Linked DNA regions of Homo sapiens: region 2 is linked to region 1. The links are contacts of gene promoters, found by promoter capture Hi-C in human tissues and cell types (Jung and others, 2019). All regions are on one chromosome and are shown on one strand. The core of a region is centred on a gene start or on the middle of the fragment in contact, and the rest is flanking DNA. Distances in the headings are between cores, read along the strand shown. Region 1 holds the start of NBPF3 (NBPF member 3). Region 2 overlaps RAP1GAP (RAP1 GTPase activating protein).

What was found. Contacts are between HindIII fragments. The study calls those that stand out against the background at their distance.
Region 2: a contact is called between a fragment that was not itself captured here and the fragment with the promoter of NBPF3 in region 1, in 1 of the 25 tissues and cell types used here (IMR-90 fibroblasts).

Annotation. Positions count from the first base shown.
Region 1 is chr1:21,437,155-21,443,718 of GRCh38, forward strand. It overlaps NBPF3 (NBPF member 3), which reads left to right and starts at 2,983. Exons shown (of 15, transcript NM_032264.6): 1 at 2,983-3,194. RefSeq lists silencers at 2,587-2,636, 3,602-3,896 and an enhancer at 3,117-3,627. The HindIII fragment of the contact is 9,702 bases long and covers 1-6,266 here.
Region 2 is chr1:21,645,066-21,651,629 of GRCh38, forward strand. It overlaps RAP1GAP (RAP1 GTPase activating protein), which reads right to left. Exons shown (of 25, transcript NM_002885.4): 2 at 4,696-4,731. Among named protein-coding and RNA genes, the nearest start is that of RAP1GAP, 21 kb to the right of the region's middle. RefSeq lists an enhancer at 6,057-6,564. The HindIII fragment of the contact is 6,080 bases long and covers 875-6,564 here.

The DNA.
Region 1 (6,564 bases), core at 1,733-4,232:
TAGCAAGGGAAATCAGAGCTTGGGAACTAGGGGCAGAGCCAGGGTAGGGAGGAGTCTGAGAGTGGAACCAGGATGCAAGGGGGAGGAGCCTGGGAGCCCTCGGGGTGGTGTCAGAACCCAGGAGAGGAGTGTGCCTGGGGGTTTGTCTGGCATCGGTGGGTGGGTGGGGGCTTTGATTGGAGTTGTCCGGGACCCCAGGGAGGTGAGGGCTCAGAGGGTGGTGAGAGCACATTGGGGAGTGGAATCCTGGCTCTCAAACGTAGGCCTAGAGGAACAGATGTAGCGCCTGCGGGACAAGACCGAGGGCACCATGCAGGTCCACGAGGACGCCCAGCGCGAGGTGCAGCGGCTGCGGAGAGCCAAGAAGCTCCTGAGCAGGTGCTGGGGAGGTCTGAGCTGGGGGCTACTGAAGAATAAGTCAGCGTTTGGGCATAACACCAGTCGAGCCTTATGCGTGTGACTCTGCACTAATATGGTCGCCACTAGCTACATGTGCCTATTAACATTTATTTATTTTTGGGATGCAGTCTCGCTCTGTCCCCCAGGCTGGAGTGCAGTGGCGAGATCTCGGCTCACTGCAAGCTCCGCCTCCCGGGTTCGTGCCATTCTCCTGCCTCAGCCTCCCGAGTAGCTGGGACTACAGGCGTCCGCCACCTTGCCTGGCTAATTTTTTTTTTTTTTTTCTTTTGAGACGGAGTTTCACTCTGTGGCCCAGGCTGGAGTGCAGTGGAGCGATCTCGGCTCACTGCATCCTCTGCCTCCCAGGTTTAAGCAATTCTCACCTTAGCCTCCGAGTAGCTGGGATTACAGGCATGCACCAACACCCCCGGCTAATTCTTAGTTTTAGTAGAGATGGGGTTTCTCCATGTTGGTCAGGCTGGTCTTGAACTCCCGACCTCAGGTGATCCTCCCGCCTGGGCCTTCTAAAGTGCTGGGATTACAGGCGTGAGCCACCATGCCTGGGCTATTTATTTTTAAGATGGAGTCTCACTCTGTCCCCTAGGCTGGATTGCAGTGACATGATCTCAGCTCACTGCAACCTCCGCCTCCTGGGTTCAAGCAATTCTCCTGCCTCAGCCTCCCGAGTAGCTGGAATTACAGGCGTGCACCACCATGTCTGGCTAATTTTTGTATTTTTAGTAGAGACGGGGGTTTCACCATGTTGGCCAGGCTGGTCTGGAACTCTTGCCTTCAGGTGATCCACCCGCTTCGGCCACCCAAAGTGCTGGGATTACAGGTTGAGCCACTGTGCCCAGCCCAGTTTTGTGATCTTTAGAAAATCACTTCTCCATGCCTCATTTTTCTCATCTGTAGGATAGGGGAAGTAATGATACTTAAAAATGTAGCTTTCTTTTGAGGATCAAATAAGCTGTTCTATATATAGCACTTAGAACAGAACAGATTTTGGAACATGCTAAGTGCTCACTGAATGTTAGCTCTCATTAATATTGTTATTGCCACTATATGCTGGACCTGTTCTAAGCAGTCCATGGATATTTAATCCTCACACCAGTCCTATGGAGTCGTTCCTGTTATTTTCAGCATTTTAGAGGTAGGAGAATGAAAACTTAAATGACCTGCACAGTCACGTGGCTCGTCCTGATCTGTCTTTCCCTAGGGCCTGGGGTGAGGTTCACAGAAGATAATGTGCCTTGAGCACTTGGTGAACTATAAAACTCTAAACCATTGAGGGCCCTAGTTTTATCTGTTCTCCTGGCCCAGAGCAGATTAGAAATAGCAAATTAGTGCGAAGGCAGAGGGTGGCAAACACAGGCCCTTCAGAAGGGCAGTTGGCAGCACTGGGGGAGGTGCCTGAAAAGCACAAAAGCAGGCATTGCAGCCCCATGGTGTCGCCCACCTTGGTGGAGAGATAGGATTGAACTTCTGTGTGAGCTCTTTGGAACGCTCTTCCTGACCCCTAACCAGTTTGGGGCCTGGGACTTGGCACGTGGCTGGCACGTGCCAAATGGGAAGGGAGGCTGGGTGTGGTGGCACACGCCTGTAGTCCTAGCTACTCGGGAGGCTGGGGCAGGAGAATCGCTTGATCCTGGGAGGCAGAGGTTGCAGTGAGCTGAGATTGTGCCACTGCACTCCAGCAAGGGTGACAGAGCAAGACTCGAGGTCAGGAGTTCTAGACCAGCCTTGCCAACATGGTGAAACCCCGTCTCTACTAAAAATACAACAATTAGCCAGGCAGGATGGTGGGCACCTGTAATCCCAGCTATTTGGGAGGCTAAGGCAGGACAATAGCTTGAACTTGGGAGGTGGAGGTTGCAGGAAGCCAAGATCATGCCATTGCACTCCATCCTGGGCAACGAGAGCAAGACTCTATCTCAAAAAAAAAAATAAAAATAAAAAAAGCGAAAACGTACATAAAATATCCCTGGAAGGATTCACAGGAACAGCATCCCACAGATTGCCTACAGGGTGAGACTGGGAGACAGGAATGGAAAAGATGCCTATTTTAACTTTACAATTTTCTGTACTATTTGATTTTTTTTTTTTAATAGATACGGGGCTCTTTCTTTTTCGTCCAGGCTGGTCTCGAACTCCAGGGCTCACGCCTGGCCCTATTTGAATTTCGAACCATGTAAATGTACCATCTTTTCAGAAAAAAATAAAATCCGTGTGGGCACGCGGGGACGCTCCGGGCCTCCGAGGGGGTGTGTCTTCTGCTTCTTTAACCTGGCAGGGGCGGTTCAAGTGGCCGGGGAAATCAGCGATTTGGAGGGTCGAGGGCTGGTGCTTTGAGAGAGACGCGGAGGGCAGAGAGGGATTCCCCGTCCCAGCTGCACTCGGTGCATCACCTAGGTTACTCCTTTTCTCGGCCCGCAGGGCCCCTAACCTGCTCGAACCTGTTGTGCAGTAGAGGCCGCCGAGTCCCTTTAAGGCCCCGCCGCGCCTGCGCCTTGGGTTCTCCTGACGCGGCCCATCCGGACCCTGAGGAGCCAGTGGGCTGCAGGCGCAGGCGCAGGCGCAGGCACAGGCGAGGGGTTGGGTGGCGGTTGAGACAGCGGCGGTACTGGGATGGGTAGGTGAGGATCCCGAGACTGAGTGAGCTTCTGCGCGCGGTGCTTTTGGGAACGCGGGACTGGCAACCTGCGGCGCCAGGAGCTGGGCCGAGGCGCGGCGGCGCGGCTGCGGGCCGCCGTCTGGATGGGAAGTTACGGCGAAGTCCACCCAGCGTTTCTCAGGTGAGGGCGCCGCGCCAGGCTGGACGGGCGGTGAATCCGGGACCGGCGGGCGCACACCTGGGTCGAGGCGCGGCCGTCGCAAGTTTTGTTGCGCGAGCGCGGGGGCGGGTGGGAGGTGGGGGGTGTGGGGGGTCGTGCACCGCCGGGGGCTGAGTTCCCCGCGCTGGATTCTTCGCCTGCCGCTGCCGCCCTCAGCCCAGCTCTCGTGGGCGCTGGGGAAGAAACTCGCTGGCGGGTGTTCTGTGGCATCCCAGGGGGTGGAGGGACGGAGCAGCTTCGGGGGCACGTCCTCCTATATCCTGTAGAGGACACTGACTCCGCACCCCACCCTCGAGGCCGGAAATCGGTTCCCTCTGCGGGCCTGAGAGGCGAGAGCGCTCGCGCCCCTGACTTGCAAAGTTGGGGTCTTTACTGGCCTCCGGGCTTCTGCTCCTGGCGGTGTCTCCAGGCTGGTGATGGGCAAGCCAGGTGTGCCAGGTCCAGGATGCACATGAGGAGCGTTTGTAGCCATCACTGAATCACCTCCTGACTAGCGGGGCAAGCCTCAAATGAACCGCAGGATTTCGGCTAGGTTGGATTGTGGGGTTGCTGTTTGCACTCCGAGGAGTTGCTGTGGTTTCCCTGTGCCTGTCTGTCTGTCTTTCTGGCTTCTTAGATCATCATCTCATGTGGCGTCCTTTCACCGAAGAGTTAACCAAGACGTTTGGCCTAGTTTCCTTGCTTTCCTTCTGTCTTTTGCTGCTAGAGCTGCTTTCGAAAAGAAGTCTTTTCTGGCAGTGGTACCTTTTCTTTGGGTTACGGTGTTGTTCATCCTTTCTTTGCCAAAGGAATGAATCCCAGTGCTTCACGAAGTTAAAGATCTGCTGGTAGTGTTTAATCTGTTTGGAGCTGATATGCGTTAGTAGCTTTCTTTTTGTTTTTAAATTTTATTAGTAAAATTTCACTAGTGAACCAGAAGCTATTTTTTTCTATTCTGAAATGCTGGCTTTAAGATTTCTGATAACTTTGCGTCAAAGAAATCTTGGAAAAGTTACTGAAGTATACAGAAGAAGTTCACAATTTTAAATGTGCAGGGGGCCCGGGCGCAGTAGATCACACCTGTAATCCCAGCACTTTGGGACGCCAAGGTGGGTAGATCACTTGAGCCCAGGATTTCCACACTAGCCTCGGCAATGTGGCAAAACCCTATCTCTACTAAAAATACAAAAGTTAGCTGTGTGTGGTGGTGTGTGCCTGTAGTCCCAGCTACCCGGTAGGCTGAGGTGGGAGGATCACCAGAGCCCGGAAGGTTGAGATTGCAGTGAGCCGTGATCATGGCAGTGCACTCCGACCTGGATGGCAGAGTGAGAGCCTATCTCAAAAAAAAAAAAAAAAAAAGTAATGAATTTTGACCAAGTGAACCACCACAGATCAAGAAATAGAACATTACTAGACTGGAGTATATTTTTGGAGTGGCATTGTTGGTTTTAGAGGTATATGAATGATAAAACTTTAGTATTACATATTGTTGAACATTTTCCCAAAGTGGTTGTACCATTTAGCAAGGATATTCTGGTTACCCCACATCCTCGCTGATGCCTGTCAGTTAAAAATCATTTTGCCATTCTAGTAGGGGTGCAGTAATATATCAGTGTGGTTTCATTGAGATTGAGTATCTTTTATTGCCATTTATGTGTCTTCTTTTGTGACATGCCTGTTAAACCTTTTTATCCAGTTTTCATTGATATGCTTGTTTTCCTGTTGATTTGTAATACTTTATTCTGGATATGCCTCCTTTCTAGGATTTATATGTATTGCATTTCCCTTTTTTCAATCTGTAGCTTGCGTTTTCACTCTTTTATGTTGTTTTTTCATGAATGGAGATTCTCTGTTTTTTTTCTTTTTGAAACAGGATCTCACTCCATTGCCCAGGCTGGAGTGCAGTGGCACAATCACAGCTCACTGCAACCTTGACCTCACAAGGCTCAGATGATCCCCCTGCCTCAGCCCCCAAGTAGCTGGGACCTACAGGGGAGTACCACCACACTCAGCTGTTTTCTGTATTTTTAGTAGAGATGGGGTTTTGCCACATTGCATAGGCTGGTCTGGAATTCCTAGGCTCAAGTGATACACCTGCTTCGGCCTCCCAAAGGATTGGGATTACAGGCATGAGCCACTGCACCCGGCCTGAGATTCTTAATTTTAATGAAATTATACTTTATCAATCTTTTCCTTTATGGTTACTGCTTTTCATGTCATCTTTAAGAAATCAATGCCTAACCTAAGAGTATGAACACATTTTTCTGTGTTAACCTTATAACAATTTTATTTCAGTTTTTGCATTTTTTTTTTTTCAGACAGGGCCTCACTCTATTGCCCAGGCTAGAGTGTGGTGGCAGGATCTCAGCTCACTCAACCTCCATCTCCTGGCTCAAGTGATCCTCCCACCTCAGCCTCCTGAGTAGCTGCGACTATAGGCATGTGCCACCATGCCTGGCTAATTTTCGTATTTTTTGTAGAGATGGGGTTGCAACATGTTTCCCAGGTTGGTCTCGAACTCTTGGGCTCAAGTAATCTGCCCGCTTCAGCCTCCCAGAGTGCTGGAATTACAGGTGTGAGCCACCCCACCTGGCTATGATTCACTTTTTACTACATGGATGTGTCTGCTTTATCCAGGACCATTTATTGAAAAGACCATCCTTTTCCTTCTGCACCATGTGGCACTTTTCTTCATAAATCGATTGACTGTATGGTCATCTGATTTATGAAATTAGTGTGGGTCTGTTTCTGTTTCTGGACCAACCTGGGTAACATAGTGAGATCCTGTCTCTACAAAAGATAAAAATAATAAATAAATGAATAAAATTTAAAAAATAAGTGCATAGAGCAGATGGAGTCATAGGTGATAATTTATAAATGATTGTCAGTTTCTTGGCTACATACAGGTGTTGGTAATTCAGATGTGTTGGGCGTTCAGGCAAAATGTATTAAGTGAATTATATGGTGTTCAGAATGATTGCTAGAGGTTCACTGTGACTTCAATTAGATGTTATTTGAGCCTCACAGAGCTGCAGTTTTGACTCTTTTATTTATTTGTCTTTTTGAAGTTTTTACAATCTTCCTGTCAAGGCAGTAACACTTTTATACTTAATTGTTCTTAGGTATACTTAATTAGCGAGAAAACTTTATGGATCATCCCTAAATAAGTGTTAAGCCATTTAAAGGGCTCACGTGATGTGATATAAACAATAGTATTCTACATAATAGTTTTAGGACTACATAGAATAATTTTTTTTTTTTTCTTGAGACAGTGTCTCGCTCTGTTGCCCAGGCTGGAGTGCAGTGGTATGATCATGGCTCTCTGCAGCCTTGATCTCTCAGGCTCAAGCAG
Region 2 (6,564 bases), core at 2,665-5,164, 210 kb after region 1:
CTCTGAGTATAGCGGCTAGGCCTGTCTCATTTTCTGCTGAATCTGCAGTAACTAAAACCATGCCTGGCCTACAGTACGTGTTCAGTGGTTACTGTGGCTGGATGAATAAATGATGAACAAATGACCACAGCTCTATCGCTCTGAGGCTCTGTACAGCCAGGAGCTTGGGCATCTAAGATTCTATTTCAGCCCACCTCTGCCCATTCTGGTCCCAAATGACCCCCAGCTCAATCGAAGTCTCAGCCTCTCTTAGAAGTGGCTGCCAGGGGCTGGGCATGGTGGCTCACGCTTGTAATCCTAGCACTTTGGGAGGCTGAGGGAGGAGGATCGCTTGAGCCCAGGAGGTCGAGGCTGTAGTGAGCTGAGATTGCCCCACTGCACTCCAGCATGGGTGACAGAGTGAGACCCTGTCTCAAAAAATAAAAATAAAAATAAAAATAAAATAAAATAAAGAGAAGTGGCTGCTAGGATAGCCAGGCTAATGAGCTGGGGACTAGCATCCATGCCCCTGTCCCCAGTAGAACCCCCTCACCCTGGCTTGGCCAAGGGGATGAGGCAGGAGGCCTTGGCATTTGCCTTGGGAGATCCCTGCCCAGAGGTATAGTGGCGGCCATGGGCTCAGGAAGCAGCTGCTAGCTCCCCCATCCCATACACTGCCAGCTGCCCGTCGGGGGCCTGCCCACCAGATGCATAATAGATGAGGAGGCCCAGCGGGCTGTGCCTGCTTGGCATTTCAGAGCCACTAATGAGGCCAGCCTTGTGCTTCCTGCAGCAGCACACAGGCCCCAGGGCCTCTGGCTCAGTGACTGCCATAAGGAGCCACCTGAGGACAGGGCCACCCACCCCAGCCCACCACTCAGCACAAGCAGCATCCAGGAGATCGAGGGCTAAAGGCATGGGCTCAGAGTGGCATTACTGTCAGTCTTGGTTCACCCCTCACTGACTGCATGCCCCTGGGCCACCACTTCCCCTCTCTGAGCGTCAGTTCCCTCATCTGTAAAATGGGGATGGACAGTAGTAAGGGACAAACAGTCATCTGTAAGGCTGGTGTCAGGATGGAATGAAATGATTCAGGGGAAGTGCTGGGCCCAGGGCCTGGGATACAGGAAGTGCTCCATATATGGGAGAGACTGGTACCAATTCTGTCAAGAGGAAACATCTCAGCACCCAGATGGGCCTTCCCAGCAGGACACATGGACTGAGCAGTGACTCCCGTTTGGGTGGCATTCAGGGCTACATCACTCCCCGCTCCTCCCTTAACTCATAACCAAGACCTTCCCCATTTCTGCAGCTTCACTGTCTCTGACCTAGGTCCCTTCCTCAGCAGAAGAGCTGGATTCAAATCCAGCCTTCACCAGCTGTGACTTTGAGCCAGAGCCTCCACCACTCTCAGTCCTGGTTTTGGCCTCTAAACTGGCAACAACAGGCCAAATTGCAGGACTGATGCCATGATTTAATGAGACCTTCAGAGTAAAATGCCTGGCATGCTGTCAGCTCTTAATCCTTTCTGGGTTCTGCCTCCACCTCCCAGGCTCCTAGTTTTAAGGCCAAAGTTGACTCTCCTCTTCCCAGAGGTATTTTCAGAACGCTCCTACCTTGCACAAGTCCACTTGACCATTCCTCTACCCTGACACCTCTCTACCTCCCACCATCCATTTGAATACACTTTAAATGTCCAGCCCCCATTCTAGGATATCTGGGTCCCTTAGGGCTGCATAATCAGTCACCCACTGTCCCACTGGCTCCCAACCCTCACACTGGGCCTCCTTCCTCTTGCATCTGCACACCTACTCTGAGGTCCTCCACTGCAGACAACCTGCTGAGAGGGGTTAGGGATGTGTAGGGGAACTCAGCCATGATCACATCTGGCCTCTACCAGGACTCACTGCTCCTTTAATCCAAGTCCTAACCTCTTAATCCTGTTTTGTAAAGGGGTGGGGGAAAATCACCTCCTCTAGGAAGCCTTCCCAGCCTACTGACAAGGTTTTACTTATTCCCCTCCCTGAACACACTCAATTCAATTCCACAAGCATTAAGCATTTATGGGCATGGTAGTTGCACAAGACCATGTGGAGGACAGAGACATGAGAAAAGTACAGCCTGGCCTTTATGGGAGAAAGTGGGGGCTAAGTTGAGCTCAAATGTGACTCAATGGGAGGCCGAGATGGGAGGATCACTTGAGCTCAGGAGTTCGAGACCTGACTGGCCAACATGGTGAGACCTTGTCTCTACTAAAAATACAAAAATAATTACCCAGGAGTGATGGCATGCACCTGTGGTCCCAACTACTCAGGAGGCTGAGGCAAGAGATTCACTTGAACCCAGGAGGTGAAGGTTGCAGTGAGCCGAGACTGCACAACTACACTACAGCCTGGGCGACAGAGTGAGACCCTGTCTCCAAAAAAACAAAAAGCGACCAAGCACCTCTCCTTTCAAGGAGTTCAGAGCCTGCTTTGCACTGCAGGGTTATGTGAACACATGCAGCTCACCTGAAGTCAGCTCCCGGAAATGCCCTATTCAACAAGCACATGTTGAGCAGCAAGTGCAGCCCAGAGAGGGAAAATGACTTGCCAAAGTCACACAACTAGAATGTGGCAGAGGCAGATTCAAGTCCACACCTGTCAGACTCAAGTCCACACCTGCCATGCTCTTTCCCCTACCCCAGGAACATTCACGAATGCATGCTCTGTAGCAGCAGAGGAGGCATTCTAAAGAGGGAATGGGGGTGTGGGGATCAAGAAAGAAAACACCCAACAAATGGTGACAAAGTTGGGCTGGAGGTGTGGCGAGGGCCTGTGGAAATGGAAGTGGAGGGACATCAAGGGGAGGTGATGCTGACTGGGCCATGTTCCCGTTGATCAGAAACACAGAGCACGGGAGAAGCAAGCCCCAAACTAGAAAAGGAGGTGGAGACAGCCCTTGAATGCCAGGAGATCATGATTAATGGTCAAAATGGCCACCACTGACGCATGGGCTGGAGTTAAGCGATGGCCTTTGGCAGCTGGGAAGGGAGGGCCTAGGGTTAGCACCTTGGACAGCGGCTCCAGCTAGGCGAGCACGGGCAAGGCATTTTGGGTAATGGGGCGTGTCCTGGGGAATGGCCGATCTTTACTTGATAGACGGGTCAACTGAAGCCCAGAGAGGGGATGGGACTCGCCCAAAGTCACACAGCTGGCCAGTTACAATCAGTCCTGGGCCCTCGTCTCTAACTCTTGGCTTAGGGCTCCCTGGGGTGGGCCTTCTGGGTGGCCCCTGTCTCTGAGTCTTCCCTCAAGCGCATCCTTCGTTCAGACCCTCCCTGTGGCCTGGTGGCCCTGGGACAGAGTAGGCGAGGTTTTGGGCTCTGCACAGAGTCTGGAAGATCAAGGTTCAAATCCCAACTGCTTGTGTGACCTTGGGCAACTCATTTCCCCACTCCGGGCTTCATTGTTCTCATCTGTAATTAGAGATAATAGTCCCTAACTCTGAGGTGTGGCCAGAGTTACATGAGATAACACGTCAGGCGTCTACTACAGTACCCAGTGCATAGCAGGTGCCCAACAAGTGGCAGTTGTCAGTGGTGTTATTACTGAACTCCCTGAAGGAAAGGATGGCATCTTCCTCACCTCTGCTTTTATCCCCCCTCAGTCTACCCCTGCTCTGAGCATAGCACACCATCTTGCAGAAGGAGGGGCTCAAATGGACTAGGCACAGCAGCAGGAGATGATGCCCAGAAAGGGAGAGGAAGCAGCCTGAGGTTGCATGGAGAGCATCAAAGGGAAATAGAAAGGCAGGCTGGGAGCTTAGCTGAGGCACCCTGTGTGCCTCCCACCCCAGGCCTGGCTTCCCAGGAGGGCTCTGCGGGGACGATGGTGCCAGATGGGAGTCGCCCAGCAGCTGGGGGGTACTGCAGGACCCACGGACCCCAGACAGCCCTGAGCAGGGGCAGGAAGCAGCAGCCAGAGCCGTCGGGGGGCTCTCCTGCTGGAGGTGAAGCAGCAGCAGGAGCAGCCAGCCAGGCCCACGTGATGCTGATGCCAGGGAAGCCCGGAGGCACCTGCCTGCTGGGGCATCAGGGTGCCACGATGTATCCCGAGGTGAGGCTGCACCTCCACCCATTGCCTCTTGGTGTTGAGAAGCTGCACATACAGTTGCCTCGTTCCCTCCTCCTCCAAAGAGAGGGCAGCCCCAGACACAGGAAATATGGGAGGAAGGGGTTCTGAGGGCTGTCGGGGGGAGTAACTAGAGGATTTGGGGGTCAGTAAAGGCTAAGGGAGCCCCAGCCCAGCGAGGGGCCACCCTGAGGTGGGAAGAAATAGAGAAGAAAAAAAAGGAAGGAAGCATTTAAGCAAAAAGGGCCTAAAATATGCCAGGGCCAGTTTTTGGTTTTGTTCTTTTTACCTTACACCCTATGAATAGGCATTTTAATCCCCATTTCACAGATGAGAAAATTGAGGTTCAGAGACATTAAGGAATTGCTGAAGTTCACACAGGCAGTGGCAGAGTGAAGATGTAAACCTGCTTTGCCTGCCTCCAAGGCTCTCTAAAAAAGTACTCTGGGGACAGTAAGAGGGTCTGCCCACCCCCTTGCCCTGAGAGGATGGTTGGAAGCTTGGTAAGGTCTGGCCTGGCATCGCAGGGGTAGGAATGGATTGGGGGTATCTGCAGGGACCAGCCAAGGAAACCCAGGCCCTCCTGAGAGTCCCCAGTACTCACCACACACTCCGGCGAGAAGTGAAGGACTTGTCCACCCTGAAACACAACAAGAGGGGCCATAGGTGAGGGGACATCCCTTCTCACCAGCTTGGCCCAGCATATCACACCCACCTGCACTGCACCACCCTCCCAGAGGGGCTGGAGAAGGTCCTGTTTCTAAGGATGCCTGATGCAGTCACTATCACCCTTAGGCTGCAGTCGCCTGACTGTCAGATTAGGGACATGGGAAGGCATAGGGGTTAAAGAGCCAGGAAAAGAGGCAGGACTGGGGGCAGTGGGGCAGGGGGCAGGGCTGTGGGGTGTTAGCAGGGGTGGGGGGACAGGTGGAGTAGGACAGTGACTACAGCAGCTTGGATCATGGCAAGGATGTAGGGGTGCGGCTGGGGCTAGCTTAGAGCCTTTCTAGGCAGGATGGAAGTTTGCTGGATATCTATGGTTTATGGTGGGCAGAAAGAACATCACCCCCAAGGCCCGTAGCCTGCCTCAATCCTGAAGCTGTTCACTCATATCCACCCAGGAAGCAAATGTCTGCGAATCTGGGAGGAGATCTAGGAGGAGCTTCCCCCCACCCTCACCCCAACACACGTACCCTGCTCCCTAAGACTTCAGGGGTACCCCAGACTTTGTCTCCCCCAAATCCACCCAGATCCAGCCCCAGGACGCATGTGTGGGTAGCACTCCCGCCCCGCCCAGATTCTCCTACTGCCCTCTGAGGGCACCTTGGTGCCGCTGGGGGCAGGGGCTGAGCAGCTGTTGGGACAACAAACAACTCGCCTCCTGCCCAGAGGTAAGAAGGGGATGAGGAGGGAGCCCAGCCCAACTCTGCCAGCAAGAGGACGTCCTCCGCAGGGCAGGGCTGGGGGCTCCCAGGGACAGCTGATGGGGAAGGCCGACTCTGCAGACAGTGAGGTCAGAGAAGCCAGGACTTGCCCAAGGTCATAGAACAGGACCCAGCCTGTGAGCTGCCCGTGTTGGCTGGCCAGGAAGCTCAGGGCCTAGCCCAGGCTCCTCTCATCACCTGACAGCTAGCAAGACCCCATATGGAAGGGTAGCCTCTGGCCTCCCACCCCACCCCACCCTCTGCTGGGGTCACCTCAGAAGTTGAGCGTCCACAAGGGGAAGGCAGCTTGGACACAATCCCCATAGCTCAGAGAACACTGACCATGCCCACACACAAGCCCCAGCGCTCCACACCCCAAGGTGGGTCCCATGGGTCCCTATGACCACTGGGAGGTAGGGCCTGGTGAAGGTCATGGAGCCGCTTGTCTGGCTGGGCAGGGGCTCTGAGCCCACTCTGTCTAACCCATCGTCCCTCCAATTTGCCAAATCTCCGCAACAGGCATAAATCCCCATCCCACCTCTGCACCCCTTGACCCCAAGATGAACCTGCTGCCACTCTGACCTCCTCCAGGCCTCCAAGCCCAGGCAGCCAGTGGCCCAGGGAGGAGGAGGTTCCTGAGAGCCAGGATGCAGGAAGGAGGGCAGCCTGGTGCCCAGGGTGGGCAGGACCTGCTAAGGGCTTCTAGAGTCCCTTTATCCAGAGCGTCACTGAGGGGCCCAACAGCTGCAGAGGCAAAGTGGGAGGTCCAGCAGAACCTCCCCCTGACCTGCCTGCCCCTACTCCCACATACCTATACATGTGAGCAGTTGCGCACACACGCATGCACACACACGCGCGCACACACAGGCGGAGTAGCCCCGCAGCCCCAGTCACATGCATAAGCGCCACTATCATGTGCTTAGACACAAACACAGCAATGTCCACCCTGCACTCACCTCCCCACACATGCACATGGACACGCAATGGGAACACACACAGACACAGAAACAGAAACACACACACACAGGCGCCACAGCACGACAGCCATG